2 separate regions of the Homo sapiens genome follow, and region 2 is linked to region 1. Evidence: promoter capture Hi-C in 16 types of primary human blood cells and fetal thymus (Javierre and others, 2016). All regions are on one chromosome and are shown on one strand. The core of a region is centred on a gene start or on the middle of the fragment in contact, and the rest is flanking DNA. Distances in the headings are between cores, read along the strand shown. Region 1 holds the start of C21orf91 (chromosome 21 open reading frame 91). Region 2 holds the start of USP25 (ubiquitin specific peptidase 25).

The links. The method cuts DNA at HindIII sites, captures the fragments that hold promoters and counts their contacts. A CHiCAGO score of 5 or more calls a contact.
Region 2: a contact is called between the fragment with the promoter of USP25 here and the fragment with the promoter of C21orf91 in region 1, in 10 of 17 cell types (non-activated CD4 T cells, fetal thymus, total B cells and 7 more). The highest score is 15.0, in non-activated CD4 T cells.

Annotation. Positions count from the first base shown.
Region 1 is chr21:17,817,756-17,820,968 of GRCh38, forward strand. It overlaps C21orf91 (chromosome 21 open reading frame 91), which reads right to left and starts at 1,601. Exons shown (of 5, transcript NM_001100420.2): 1 at 1,548-1,601; 2 at 437-570. The coding sequence starts at 563. All of the region lies in intron 2 of LOC124900465 (a long non-coding RNA gene), which reads left to right. RefSeq lists a silencer at 1,216-1,995 and an enhancer at 2,246-2,295. The HindIII fragment of the contact is 2,618 bases long and covers 1,048-3,213 here.
Region 2 is chr21:15,728,305-15,731,517 of GRCh38, forward strand. USP25 (ubiquitin specific peptidase 25) reads left to right here and starts at 1,678. Exons shown (of 26, transcript NM_001283041.3): 1 at 1,678-2,134. The coding sequence starts at 2,090. RefSeq lists a silencer at 1,283-2,242. The HindIII fragment of the contact is 4,884 bases long and covers 686-3,213 here.

The sequences.
Region 1 (3,213 bases), core at 351-2,850:
CCAGATAATAAGATCATACTGGTGAGAAAAGAGTTCGGGCTCATCTCACTCAAATACTTGCATAATAGGCTCGAAAGAATAAAAAAATTGTTATGTTACTTCTTAATATAAAAAACACACAGGTCTGTTAAAATCTGACAATTCAATAAGCTCTCAAACCAGAAAACACGTTTCCCAGTCAACACTCATACTTATTTCTGTATTAGGAAAAATGGGGTTGTTGCAGGGGTCTTTAAAAAAAAAAGATTTCTCTTAAATTCGTAACTCTGTTAACTGCACCTTCATTTCCAGAAACCTTATCTTTAACAAATCTCTACACTATTCATACTTAGCACAATTTCCAATCATTGAAGACATTTTAGTTTTACCTTACAATCAGTACAAAGCAGCTGTGTTAAATTCATTCCATAAGATCAAAACTATACTGTGTCCTTACCCTCAATATTTAGCTCAAAACAAATGTGGCAGAAGGAGAGTGTTTCTTTGTCTGTTCCCAGTTTACAAACACTGCAAATGTTGTCATCATTCAAATCAATGTTTACAAACTGCTCCTCTTCGTTCATAGTGCCCCTATTAAGAAACAGAAAAGGAAAGTTACACAATTTCATGAACCTGCCTTTGGGGTAGTTCCCTTTACTGGGAACTTCTAGGAAATAAGGATGCTGTTCAGCTCATTTAAAGCAAAAGCTCCATCAAACAAGCATCGCCATACTTGCACTCCAACATTGCACTTTTCCTGTGGAAAGACACAAAGCTAGTAAAACTTAAAGCCAGGCCATAGGTGACACTATGTCCGTGTCTTTTTTGTCCTATAGTTGATTGGGTTAGTGGCACCTGAAGGAAAGAGATTTGCCGGCATTCTAGTCCTCCTCCTTCGTCCCCCAACCTCGAATAATCAGAGGGCTTAGCAGCGAGGCCTTTTCAGCTACCAGGTTCTGTCAACCTAGTTAACGCTGTGAGAAACAGGAAAAACGACCTGCACGGGACACTGCTTTGCTAACTTCATTGGGGGAACCTCAGATGCGCCTCGCGAACTCGGAGTTGCGAAGCTTCGCATCGAACGGAGATCGGCGGCAGCAAAATGCACGTGGGTACCGAATACCCGGGGAGGGCGTCCCGCCGTGTCCGGGGCAACTACACCGAAGGCCGAGCGGCGGCTTCACGGTACCGGCCGGGCACCGCCGGAGGGGCCCAAGCCGGAGCTGGGAGAGCCGCGGCATCCTGGAGCCCGGCGGGCGGGAGAGCCTCGTCCCATCGCTCCGGGATTCCTCCCAGAGGGAAGAAAGCGTCCGAGGGCCACGGCGGCCGGTCCGCCCAGCCTCAGCGTCTCGGGGAGCCGGGTCCTGGCCCGGCCTTCGGCGTTGGGGGCGCGCGGCCGCCCCCAGGGAGTCGCGGACCCAAGTCCGTCTTTCCGTCGGTCTGTCCGTCGGGGCGCCTGGCGCGCAGCAGCGCGAGGGGCCACGGGGCTCGGAACTCGAAGGAGGCGGAACGATGGGACTGGGGGTCGGGGCTCAGGTGGGATGGGAGCAGGGCTGCGGGGTCTTTACCGTCCGGCTCCGCGGGCCACCACCGCCGTTCCGTGCGGCTCGGGTTCCTCCACTATTGTTTCCGGCCGCAGCAGAGGCGGCCGCCGCGCGCCTGGCCCCGCCCTCTCCCGCCGGCTCCATCCCGTAAAGGCTGCGGGGAGGGTGGCGCGGCCGCGGGCACACCTGCGCGCTCGCCGGGCTGCTGTGGGTCCGCCCCTCCGCTCCTGCACCGACGCCGCACCTTCGCCTCGAGTTCTCCTGTGATCCCGTGTTTCCTGGCCGGAGTTTCTTACCGTTCTCTGGAACGTAGCTCCTCACACACCCCTCCTCGAGGTGCGTAGATAGACGAATCCGTTCCACCTCTCCCTTCAGCCTAGTGCAAACTACTGCCCCGGGGCGGGGGCCGCAGGCGGCGGGGGTAGGAAAGCCGCGGGTGGATGGCAGAACGGGAGAGGTGCGTGGGTGGCACTTTGACTTCAGGAGAAAGAAGCAGAATACTGTCACTGAACTTATAGTTAAGTGCCAGTTGAAGTATCTAACGAAGGAAAAGTTCATATTCAGGTGTCATGATAGAGGCATAATTTCAAATACAGAATCTTTTCAAATACATTATTTGTTGTGGGGCGCCCCTGCCCCCAATATGGTACATCCCTCAACGCCCACGGGAAAAATCCCGAAGCCCCACCTCTTATTTTTAGGTCCTGCTTGGTTCTCAAATTCTTTGCTTGACTTTTGTTTAAGCTATTCTGTTTTTTTTAGGGTATGGTTCTTGCAGTACTTTCACTTACATTTTCCATTGTAGTCCTCACAGTAACCTACAGAGGAGAAACAGGAACTGTTCTCTCATGTTGCAGCCTACGAGTAATTGACCCAGGTTATCACAGTTGGTTAGAAAAAGGCTGGGACTTGAACCGAAGGCTACTGACCTAAGATCAATGTTATTTTCTACAGCATCATATGTATGTGTTCTGGTTGCACTCACATAGAAAGAGGGCTAGCCTGTCAATCTACATGTAGGCATTCTTGAACTGATGGTTAGGAATGGACTGTCTAGATCTTGGAAACTTCTGGGCCAAATTAGCACTCCAGTTATGGCATTTGTGCCTCGCAGGAGCGATCTGTGTCCTTGCCACCTAAATTGTAGTAGATGAACAAACAACATTGACATTACTTGGTTTCCTGTTAGAAATGTAGAATCTCAGGCCCCACTCGAGATTTCCTAAATCAATACTTGCACTTTAACAAGACCGCCAGGAGATTCCTATGTTCATCGAAGTTTGAGATGCACTAATTGAAATGAAAAGCCTGTGCTTTTTCTCTTCGAATTTCTCATTCTAGGTAACTACGACTAAGATACCTTGCATGTTGGATTCTACCCATCTTTTCAATAAAAAGCATTCTTTTAAAAAGGACTCTTTTAAAGTGATTCAATAAAAGTGTTCTAAAATCACTAAAATTTAAAAATTGAAACAAGTTATTTTCACTTCTCAGAATTGTCTTCCTTCCTATGGCATTTCACATTGTTTACTTGCTATTCTTAAAACTCTTCTCTCTTGTTGTTGGCTTTTTAAAAAAAATCAAGGAATAATTTACAGAAATAAAATGCTTCCATTTTAAAAGCATTATTTGATGAGTTTTGGCAAATACATACACTTGAGTAACCACCACCCCAGTGAGGATACAGAAC
Region 2 (3,213 bases), core at 428-2,927, 2.1 Mb before region 1:
CATATAAAAGCTCTATTTGATGATTATCTATTGTAAGATCATCTTTTTTTTTCTGTATGGAAGTAACAAATTTAACTCAGAGAAAAGTTGTATTGCCAAATTCTTGAAATTAAACCTTAGTATCTGGCAACATTTTTCCTCCCATGGTACTAGATTACTAGATTTTTATGTTAAATTTAATTTTCTTGAATTCAAATGTATGAGCTTGATTTCTAAAAAACAAACAAACAAACCAAAAAACCAAAACCCTCATATGGAGAAACATGAAGTTAGCATATAAACAAGAAAAGAAGAAACTTTGATCTATAAATGAAGAAAAATGGGTTTTGATAAGCTCTCTTTGACAGGTCACCCTCCTTGGGCTTCAGAGTTATAAAAAAATCGATACGTGAGATTAGAGATGTGACAGTATTTCTAAATTTCTGTTTCCAACCGTTTCATGACTTTTCATTTCCTCTAGAAAAGACATAGGATATTAATATAATAAGATTTGCAATTTGTTAAATATCAAATGAGTCAACAAATATGAAGCTTCAAGGAAAAGGTGACAACAGGTGGTACCAGACATCTGAGCTGCAGAACAAAGATGGTTGTAAAGTGCACAGAACTGTTACAAAGCCTTAAGAGCTACTATAATCCATGATTATTAAATAACACCACATACTATTTCAATTAGCATTTGCCAAGCTTGCTTTCCTTGTCATTGGATTAAAAATTATACCCGGATTTTCAAGTGTATTCTATTTGTGACAATATGCATTGATAATTTCTCTCCTCACACTGCTGCACTCTCACCTCCGTTCCCAGATTAGCTCCTGGAACTCGAGATATTTTTGTGGCTAGAGATTGCTTTCTTAATGTTAGATTTTCCTTACAATTCCATATATAGTCAAGCATTCCATGCATGGTAGTTAATTGTTTGCTTAATTTGGCAACTGGGATATTAGAATTATGTATCATTAGGCAGTGATATTTTTGTAAGGTTGTTTGCTAGATAGATCCTATTTCATTTATATTAAGTCTTGGGAAGATAAACTTTATTTTTCCAGAGCCTAGCAGTGACTGACACATATTCGAATGAATGAAGGTAGATAGAAAATGTCTATATTCATTTACGTAATGATTAGTTAAGGAGAAAAGTACTTCCCAGCATAAAGATTTCTGGCAACCCTTTGCTTATTTGACTTTTCCCTTCAGGCAAGTTCAAGGCTTGTGAAATTCCTAGAAAGGCGAGGGGAGAGAACGCGTGACACAGAAAGGGGCCGGAGTTCGGGACCCTACGCAGTTTTGGGACGTTATGGGCATGGAGGGAAATGTTTGCTTTGGAGGCTTTGGGTAAGCTAGGGATCCGACAAGCCCTGGGCGCAGGGAGGAACGCTGCCCTCCGGCCTCCAGTCGCGCTCCCCGAAGCCCAGCGCCAGCGTCGCGCAACCTGCCGCAGGGGCGGCTCCCGGGCCAGGCAGCCAGGCGCGCCCTCGCCCCACCCGGGAACGCCAGGCCCGCGCAGGGAGGGGCGGGGCTCCATGGCGGCCCCGCCCCGCCGCCCGGAGGGTCACAATGTAGGGTTAGGGCGGCCGGCGGGCGGGGCTCTGCGGGGGAGGAGCCGCCGGGCGGGGGCGGGGATGGCGCGTGGGGGAGGGGAGGGAGGAGGACTCGCGGAGGGAGGAGGACAACGCCATTCCGGGCGGCCGCTCCCTCCGTCCCCTCTCTCCCTTCCCCAAAGCAGCCCGCGGACCGGCAGCAAAGGAACGTGCGAACGCGTGACGCCGCCCGACTGGCTCGCGCTCTCCCGTGCCCCGGCGTCCTCCGCCCGCTCATGGCCCGGGCCGCCGCGGACGAGCGGCGCTGAGGCGGGCCGCGTGGAGACGTGAGGCGGCCGCCGTGGCCCTCACAGTCGGCGTTTCGCCGCCTGCCCGCGGTGCCCGCGCACGCCGGCCGCCATCGCCTTCGCGCCTGGCTGGCGGGGGCGCTGTCCTCCCAGGCCGTCCGCGCCGCTCCCTGGAGCTCGGCGGAGCGCGGCAGCCAGGGCCGGCGGAGGCGCGAGGAGCCGGGCGCCACCGCCGCCGCCGCCGCCGCCGCCGCGGGGGCCATGACCGTGGAGCAGAACGTGCTGCAGCAGAGCGCGGCGCAGAAGGTGAGGCGAGTCCGCCAGCCGGCGGGCCCCACTTCTCCTTCCGACGGGCTGTCCTCTCCCGCTGCGGCCGGGCGCCCCGGCCTCGCCGCCGCCGCCTTCCCGGGCTTCCTCCCCGGTCACCCCCGGCCCCTGCCCATCGCCTCGGGGGCGTCGCGCCCAGAGCCCAGCTGCGTGTGGGAAGCAGAGTGTAGTTTGCGGGCTTCAATCCACTTCCTTCTGCCGATTGTTTTCCCGTAGCAGACGGTGCCAGGTATTGAGAGCGACCCTCACATTCCTACAGTGCTCTGTGTGGCATCTTAATGAAACTTTATTCTCTCCCCTTAAATGAGAAAGAATAGCTAGTTGTCATCCTTTCTGAACCGATTTTGTCTTTCAAAGGTAGTAGTGTACCAGGCCTGCTATTTTGCAAAACGGTCTCCACCAAAATCGAATTACCTGCCTCGCGGGGCAGGCGTGTTGACCAGGTGGACTCTAGAAGTAGGTGGTTTGCTTGGTTTCTTTTCCTTTTAAGGTTTCCCTTTCTTCTTCTTCTTTTCTGTTTTTTTTTTTTTTTTTTTTTTTTTCAATATAGAAACTGTCCCTAAGAGAGGAAACCTTTCTGGCCATGTTATTCCAGGAATCTTTTGTCCCCTAAGTTTGACCTTGTTCTTTCGTTCACCCTTTACTCTTGCATCAGTCACACATTCAAATGGTCACTCACTAAAGAAAACAATTAAAAAACTGTTTGTGAAACTTTATATCTTTAAAGTGAATAGAGATCATTCTGCTATTTTAGATTTTGCTTTCAGAATCTTAAGTGCACTATCATGGCTTGCACCATGTTCTGAAGAGTAGTTGGCCATGATTTAACTTCTTTTTTTAATTTTTAATTTGCGTGAAAAGCATTTTGGGCAAAAGAGTAAACCGTGCCTTAGTTGTGTTGGTATTACGGGGACAGTTAGGGTTTACTGTGATCAACCACCAGAGTTATGTTTGGTTTATCTGGGTGAGTAATGAATGCCCCACCCTGTTGTAGATTTGGTGTAGATTGCAATATTCTACCTGTGCTTGACTTTAGAATAAGACCTGTTCTAAAATGG